Regions from separate parts of the Homo sapiens genome. Here region 2 is linked to region 1. Evidence: promoter capture Hi-C in human tissues and cell types (Jung and others, 2019). All regions are on one chromosome and are shown on one strand. Each heading gives the region's core, a stretch centred on a gene start or on the middle of the fragment in contact. The rest is flanking DNA. Distances are from core to core; before and after follow the strand shown. Region 1 overlaps PLEKHA4 (pleckstrin homology domain containing A4). Region 2 holds the start of IZUMO1 (izumo sperm-oocyte fusion 1).

What was found. Contacts are between HindIII fragments. The study calls those that stand out against the background at their distance.
Region 2: the fragment with the promoter of IZUMO1 here is called in contact with a fragment that was not itself captured in region 1 in 3 of the 25 tissues and cell types used here (dorsolateral prefrontal cortex, heart left ventricle and lymphoblastoid cells).

What each region holds. Positions count from the first base shown.
Region 1 is chr19:48,854,958-48,858,857 of GRCh38, reverse strand. PLEKHA4 (pleckstrin homology domain containing A4) reads left to right here. Exons shown (of 20, transcript NM_020904.3): 9 at 1,362-1,436. Among named protein-coding and RNA genes, the nearest start is that of PLEKHA4, 12 kb to the left of the region's middle. The HindIII fragment of the contact is 8,029 bases long and covers 1-3,900 here.
Region 2 is chr19:48,745,109-48,749,008 of GRCh38, reverse strand. It overlaps IZUMO1 (izumo sperm-oocyte fusion 1), which reads left to right and starts at 2,100. Exons shown (of 10, transcript NM_182575.3): 1 at 2,100-2,574; 2 at 3,077-3,384; 3 at 3,721-3,795. The coding sequence starts at 3,150. It overlaps FUT1 (fucosyltransferase 1 (H blood group)), which reads left to right. Exons shown (of 2, transcript NM_001384359.1): 2 at 1-998. RefSeq lists enhancers at 1,034-1,819, 1,820-2,605 and a cis regulatory region at 3,381-3,900. The HindIII fragment of the contact is 12,211 bases long and covers 1-3,842 here.

The sequences.
Region 1 (3,900 bases), core at 473-2,972:
GAGCAGAGAGGTGAGAAGGAGGGGACTACGTTTCCCATCAGGCCTCAGGGCTGTCTTTCCGTATTCTCAAGGCCATTGCTCCCTGGGTGTCATGGGTATTGTAGTCCATAATGATCTCAGCTGGGCTCAGGTGAGAGAGAGCTTGAACCTATCAGGTGTCCAGCTCCTCTCAGGTGTCTGGGCTGTCTTTCTAGGCTGGTCTTCGGCCATTGCTTTTTTTTTTTTTTTTTGAGACTGAGGTCTTGCTCTGTCGCCAAGGTTAGAGGGCAGTGGCACGATCTCGGCTCACTACAACCTCTGTCTCCCGGGTTCAAGCGATTCTCCTGCCTCAGCCTCCCGAGTAGCTAGGATTACAGGCACCTGCCACCACGTCCGGCTGATTTTTATATTTTTGGTAGAGATGAGGTTTCACCATGTTGACCAAGCTGGTCTCGAACTCCTGACCAGCTGACAGGTGATCTGCCCATCTCAGCCTCCCAAAGTGCTGGGATTACAGGCGTGAGCCACCGCGCCTGGCCCAGCCATTGCTCTTTAAGCATCATGGGGATTGTAGTCCTGGATACTCTGTGCCAAGACAGTGCGGTGAGAGGTTTGCATCTCCCTTGTGTCCCCAGTTCACCTTGCAAGTTGGTTGCCTGCTGTTTTGTCTGAGCATCATGGGACGGTAGCTCAGAATATCCACAGCTGACTGCAAGTCTGAGAATGAGAGTAGCAAATTCCATCATCTTGTGGGGCTGTTTTGCCAGGCTGGTGCATTTATTATCACCCTCTGTGTCCCCACAGTGGCACACAGCTGGAGAGCAGGTAGTTGAGGAAGTTGAGAGGGCCCAGTTCTGAACCTCAAAATATCTCCTAAAGCACTTCAATTATGGACATGCCCACTCTACTATTTGTCACTAAGACATGCCAGTTTCTTTTTTTTTTTAATTATTATTATTATTTTTTTATTGATCATTCTTGGGTGTTTCTCGCAGAGGGGGATTTGGCAGGGTCATAGGACAATAGTGGAGGGAAGGTCAGCAGATAAACAAGTGAACAAAGGTCTCTGGTTTTCCTAGGCAGAGGACCCTGCGGCCTTCCGCAGTGTTTGTGTCCCTGGGTACTTGAGATTAGGGAGTGGTGATGACTCTTAACGAGCATGCTGCCTTCAAGCATCTGTTTAACAAAGCACATCTTGCACTGCCCTTAATCCATTTAACCCTGAGTGGACACAGCACATGTTTCAGAGAGCACAGGGTTGGGGGTAAGGTCATAGATCAACAGGATCCCAAGGCAGAAGAATTTTTCTTAGTACAGAACAAAATGAAAAGTCTCCCAGACATGCCAGTTTCTAAACATCTCCATTTCAACGTTCCTCCCAGGCACACTCTGGCTCCCCCACTTATCTCCAGCTCCCCCCGCGGCCCCCTGGGACCCGGGCCTCCATGGTTTTATTGGTAGGTATCCTGGAGTACCCTAAATCTACCGGAGCCCCCTCCCTTCCTTTCTTCTCTATGAGGAATGTCATCTCTTGGCCTAGGGTGCCTAGAGAACTGTAGATATTTCAAAGACCCTGGGTAGGTATTAGATTCATGTGGTGGCTGTAACAAAGCGCATGGCCGAAAACAACAGAAATGGATTATCTTGCGGTTCTGGAGGCCAGAGGCCTGGAGTCAAGGGATTGGCAGGGCTATACTTCCACTGAAGGTTCTAAGGAGGAGCTTTTATTGACTCTCTCTTAGCTTCTGGTGGTTGCCAGCAATTCCTGAGGTTCTGTGGTTTTTTTTATGGCCACATCTTTGCCTCCATCATCCCATGATGATCTTCCTTTGTGTTTTTGTTGCTGTCCATCTCCTCCTATTAGGACACCCCATGACATCGTCGTAACTTAACTTAAATCCGCAAAAACCTCTTTCTTTCTTTCTTTCTCTTTCTTTTTCTTTTCTTTTCTTTCTTTCTTTCTTTTTTTTTTTTTTTTTTGAGACGGGGTCTCTCTCTGTCGCCCAGGCTGGAGTGCAGTGGTGCGATCTCGGCTCACTGCAAGCTCTGCCTCCCGGGTTCATGCCATTCTCCTGCCTCAGCCTCCTGAATAGCTGGGACTACAGGCGCCCGCCACCACGCCCGGCTAATTTTTTTGTATTTTTTTCTTTGTTTTTTTCTTGAGACAGAGTCTCGCTCTGTCGCCCAGGCTGGATTGCAGTGGCGCGATCTCGGTTCACTGCAACCTTCGCCTCCCTGGTTCAAGCAATTCTCCTGCCTCAACCTCCTGAATAGCTGGGATTACAGGCACGTGCCACCATGCCTGGATAATTTTTGTATTTTTAGTAGAGACGGGGTTTCACCATGTTGGTCAGGCTGGTCTCGAACTCCTAACCTCGTGATCCTCCCGCCTCGGCCTCCCAAAGTGCTGGGATTACAGGCGTAAGCCACTGCGCCTGGCCCAACTTTTTTGTATTTTTAGTAGAGATGGGGTTTCACTGTGTTAGCCAGGATGGTCTCGATCTCCTGACCTTGTGATCTGCCCGCCTCGGCCTCCCAAAGTGCTGGGATTACAGGCGTGAGCCACCGCGACTGGCCTTCCTTCCTTTCTTTCTTTCTTTCCCCCTTCCCCTTCCCCTTCCCCTCCCCTCCTCGTTCTTTCCTTTCCTTTCCTTTTTCTCTCTCTTTCTTTCTTTCCTTCTTTCCTTCCTTTTTCTTTTTTTTTTTTGAGAAGGAGTTTCACTCTTGTTGCCCAGGCTGGAGTGCAATGGCGTGATCTCGGCTCACCGCAACCTCCCCTCCTGGGTTCAAGCGATTCTCCTGCCTCAGCTGCCCGAGTAGCTGGGATTACAGGCACCCACCACCACGCCCTGCTAATTTTGTATTTTTAGTAAAGACAGGGTTTCTCCATGTTGGTCAGGCTGGTCTTGAACTCCCGACCTCAGGTGATCTGCCTGCCTCGGCCTCCCAAAATGCTGGGATTACAGGCATGAGCCACTGCGCCTGGCCACCTAGCTAACTTTTTCTACTTTTTGTAGAGACAGGGTTTTGCCATGTTACCCAGGCTGTTTTTTGTTTTTTTTTAAATTAAAAAAAATTATTTATTTTCTTGAGACAGAGTCTCACTCTGTCACCCAGGCTGGAGTGCAGTGGTGCAATCATGGCTCACTGCAGCCTCAGTCTCCTGGGCCCAAGCGATACTCCCACCTCAGCCTCCCTAGTAGCTGAGACTACAGGCATGTACCACCATGCTCAGCTTATTTTATTTATTTATTTATTTATTTATTTATTTATTTGAGACGAAATCTCACTCTGTCACCCGGGCTGGAGTGCAATGGCACGATCTCGGCTCGCTGCAACCTCTGCCTCCCGGGTTCAAGTGATTCTTCTTCCTCAGCCTCCCAAGTAGCTGGGATTACAGGCGCCCGTCACTACGCCTGGCTAAGTTTTGTATTTTTAGTAGAGACAGGGTATCACCATGTTGGTCAGGCTGGTCTCGAACTCCTGACCTCAGGTGATCCACCCGCCTCGGCCTCCCAAAGTGTTGGGATTACAGGCATGAGCCACCGCACCCGGCCCTATTTTTTTATTTTTATTTTTTTTGCAGACACAAGGTCTCCCTATGTTGCCCAGACTGGTCTTTAACTCCTGGGCTCAAGTGATCTTCCCTCTTTGGCCTCCCAAAGCTTTGGGATTACAGGAGTGAGTCACTGTGCCCTGCACTTTGTTTTATTCTTAGTCATAAATAAAATGTCTAAATTTCTCCATTAATTATAATATTTGCCATGGCTGCTTGATCAAGAGCCCATTATTGATCTTTCTGAAGCCAAGAATGTGGAAGTTGGTCTACTGAAATTTGCTAATGCTTAGAAGGAAGCTGATAAGGAGAGGGGTCGCTAGGCTTGGTGGTTCATGCCTGTAATCCCAGGACTTCAGGAGGCC
Region 2 (3,900 bases), core at 851-3,350, 110 kb after region 1:
GATAATTTTTTTTAATTTTTGTAGAGACGAGGTCTTGTGATATTGCCCAGGCTGTTCTTCAACTCCTGGGCTCAAGCAGTCCTCCCACCTTGGCCTCCCAGAATGCTGGGTTTATAGATGTGAGCCAGCACACCGGGCCAAGTGAAGAATCTAATGAATGTGCAACCTAATTGTAGCATCTAATGAATGTTCCACCATTGCTGGAAAAATTGAGATGGAAAACAAACCATCTCTAGTTGGCCAGCGTCTTGCTCTGTTCACAGTCTCTGGAAAAGCTGGGGTAGTTGGTGAGCAGAGCGGGACTCTGTCCAACAAGCCCCACAGCCCCTCAAAGACTTTTTTTTGTTTGTTTTGAGCAGACAGGCTAAAATGTGAACGTGGGGTGAGGGATCACTGCCAAAATGGTACAGCTTCTGGAGCAGAACTTTCCAGGGATCCAGGGACACTTTTTTTTAAAGCTCATAAACTGCCAAGAGCTCCATATATTGGGTGTGAGTTCAGGTTGCCTCTCACAATGAAGGAAGTTGGTCTTTGTCTGCAGGTGGGCTGCTGAGGGTCTGGGATCTGTTTTCTGGAAGTGTGCAGGTATAAACACACCCTCTGTGCTTGTGACAAACTGGCAGGTACCGTGCTCATTGCTAACCACTGTCTGTCCCTGAACTCCCAGAACCACTACATCTGGCTTTGGGCAGGTCTGAGATAAAACGATCTAAAGGTAGGCAGACCCTGGACCCAGCCTCAGATCCAGGCAGGAGCACGAGGTCTGGCCAAGGTGGACGGGGTTGTCGAGATCTCAGGAGCCCCTTGCTGTTTTTTGGAGGGTGAAAGAAGAAACCTTAAACATAGTCAGCTCTGATCACATCCCCTGTCTACTCATCCAGACCCCATGCCTGTAGGCTTATCAGGGAGTTACAGTTACAATTGTTACAGTACTGTTCCCAACTCAGCTGCCACGGGTGAGAGAGCAGGAGGTATGAATTAAAAGTCTACAGCACTAACCCGTGTCTCTGTAGCTTTTTTGGAGCCAGAGCCACTGTGTATGTGTGTGTGGGTTTGTGTGTGTGTGTGTGTGTGTGTGTGTGTAAGAGAGTGGAGGAAAAGGTGGGGTACTTCTGAAGACTTTTATTTTTTTTTAATTAATTTATTTTTTTTCAGAGATCGAGTCTTGCTCTGTGGCCCAGGCTGGAGTGCAGTAGTGTGATCTCGGCCCACTGCAAACTCCCACCTCTCGGATTCTGGTGCCTCAGCCTCCCAAGTAGCTGGGACTACAGACGTTCGCCACCATGCCCAGCTAATTTTTGTATTTTTAGTAGAGACGGGGTTTCACCATGTTAGCCAGGCTGGCCTCGAACTCCTGACCTCAGACAATCTGCCCGCCTCGGCCTCCCAAAGCGCTGGAATTACAAGCGTGAGCCACCGCGCCGGGCCCTGAGGATTTTTATTACTCGTGATTGGGAGTACTGTCCCTACTTAGATCTGACAGCCCCTTGTTGCTGGACTTGTGTGAGTTGTGGTCCCTGTTTTTCTGGTTCCCTGTTTCTATCACACAGGAGAGAGAGACCTTCCAGGACCCTAACGTCTGAGCCCCCAGTTGCTCACTCCTGGACTGTCAGTATTGGCCCCCAGTCCTCTCCTCCCACTGGGACCTCCGCGTGGGCAGAAGAGGCGGAGGAGGGAGCGGATTATCACTGAACTACATTTCCCGGAAAGCTATGAGGTTGGCAGCGTCAGTCAGCTACAGAGAAAGAGGCCCCAGGGCATTTTGGGAGTTGTAGTCTTAGGGCTAAAATGTCCACTTCGTGGCTCGACAGCCGTTTCCAAGGACCGCGGTGGGGGCGGCAGCGGCCTGGGGGGCCGGATCTAGCCCAAAGCCTGGGTCCTGGGGCAAGGGGAGGGGAGGAAACTGAAGGCCTGAGTCCGGTCCTTGACTCTGGAAGCCAGAGTAGTCAGGAGGCTTCCTCTTCCCTAGATGCTGGGAAAATTCTAGTCCAAAAAGGCTGCAGCCTCTGTGACGTCATGGAGCGATGGGCGGGACCTCCCTTTGTTGCAGTCCAATCAGACAGAGTTGAGTTTCTGGGTGGGGCCGAGGAAAACCCCAAGGAATATCTATAAAGGAATTCGGGCCCCTACGTGAGAAGCTCGGAGGGGGTGGTTTCAGGAGTTCCTTGTGGAGAGGGGATCGTCCGTGACTCAGACCCCGTCGAAAAGCTCTCGATTTCACGCAACCAACCTTACCCTCGTCCCCAACACAATCCTTGATTTTACCCCTGGGAAAATTAGCGTAGGTGGTCATGACCCCGGCTTCCTCTTTAAAAGCCCTCAGAACCTGGACCGGGCTCCTCAATGAACCCTAGTGTTAGAGGCCACAAATCGGGAACCAAGGTCGGGGAGCGGCTGTTTAGGGTGCATCACTGTTCAGGATGCATCGGGGCTCCTTTTTCTAAGCGGAAGGGTGCGCCCTGCAAATTGGGAGCCCGTTAGTTTTGGGGAAGGGTGAACAAGGGCCCCCTAGGTCTAGAGGACCGCATGGAGTCTCGCTTAAGTGTTAGTGGGGTCCTCAGTTCTAGGAATCTGGTATGTGTTTTGGTTTTGAAGGAGTTCCGAGTTTGATAATATCGTGGTTGGGTCTGTGTTAGATGTTTATTGGTTTGGGCATTGAATCTTCAGCTTGAGGTTCAACAGGTTTTGGGGGGCTGGCGGGGGAGTGCCTCGGTGTTGCTCTTAAGGGTTGGAGTTCAGGCTCACGTCAATCTGGGGACTTGGAAAATTCCACAGTTTGGGATTTTGGGAAGGGGCGCATGGGGTTGGGAGATTCCAGGTTCTGAGTTTGGGGACTTATGAGTGATTCCTGTTTAATAGTTTTTCTGATCTCTCAGTTGGGGGATTCAGTGAGAACCCTAAATTTTGGGTCCCCTGGATTGGGGCTCAGTTTCACACTTCGGAGGCATTTGATGAAGGACATAGGTCCTCTTTATTTGGAGATTTCCTGAAGATCCTCTTTTCGAGGTTTGCGGACCCCATGGATAGGCGGCCCAGTGGGATTTCTTAAGATGGATTTTGGCTTTTCTCCGTTTAGCGTTCTCCTGCTCTCGGTTTGGGGTGAGAGCACCCTTCCTAACGGTCTTCGGGAACTGTGCGCGCCGGCTGCAATGGGGCCGCATTTTACCCTCCTGTGTGCGGCGCTGGCCGGTTGCTTGCTTCCTGCCGAGGGGTGTGTTATATGTGACCCGTCTGTCGTGCTGGCGCTAAAGTCCCTGGAGAAAGATTACCTGCCTGGCCACCTGGATGCGAAGCATCACAAAGCCATGATGGAAAGGGTAGAGAATGCCGTGAAGGATTTCCAGGAACTGTCGCTTAATGAGGATGCCTATATGGGGGTCGTTGGTGAGGGCAGGGGGGACCACGGACCCCTGGGTCCTGGGAAAGGAGGGAGATAAGACCAGGGGAAGGAAGAGGCTGACAGCAGGGTCTCCGGGATTCGGGAATGGAGAAGGCTGAGATGCAGATTCCGAGGTTCCCCGAGGCTAGTAAATACCGTTTTCCCTATCCTCGGCTGGCAATTTTATGTAATAAAACTACAACTCCCAGAAGGCAACGGGCGGCTGAGTCCTTAACCAGGCCTATCTTTGCCCAGTGGCCTCATGGGTATTGTAGTTTCTAAGATTAGGCGCGCCAATGAGACAGTAAGGCTGGAATCTGGGGTTATATCTCCTCTGACAGATGAGGCCACACTGCAAAAGGGGTCCTGGAGTTTGCTGAAGGATCTGAAACGCATCACAGACAGTGATGTAAAAGGTAAATGCATCAAGGGGGTGGGAGTCCCGAATCTCTCAGAGAAGCCAGCGTTAGTGATGCCTGGTCTCTTGGTCAGATACTAGGCTGTGGACCCAGACCGCCTAG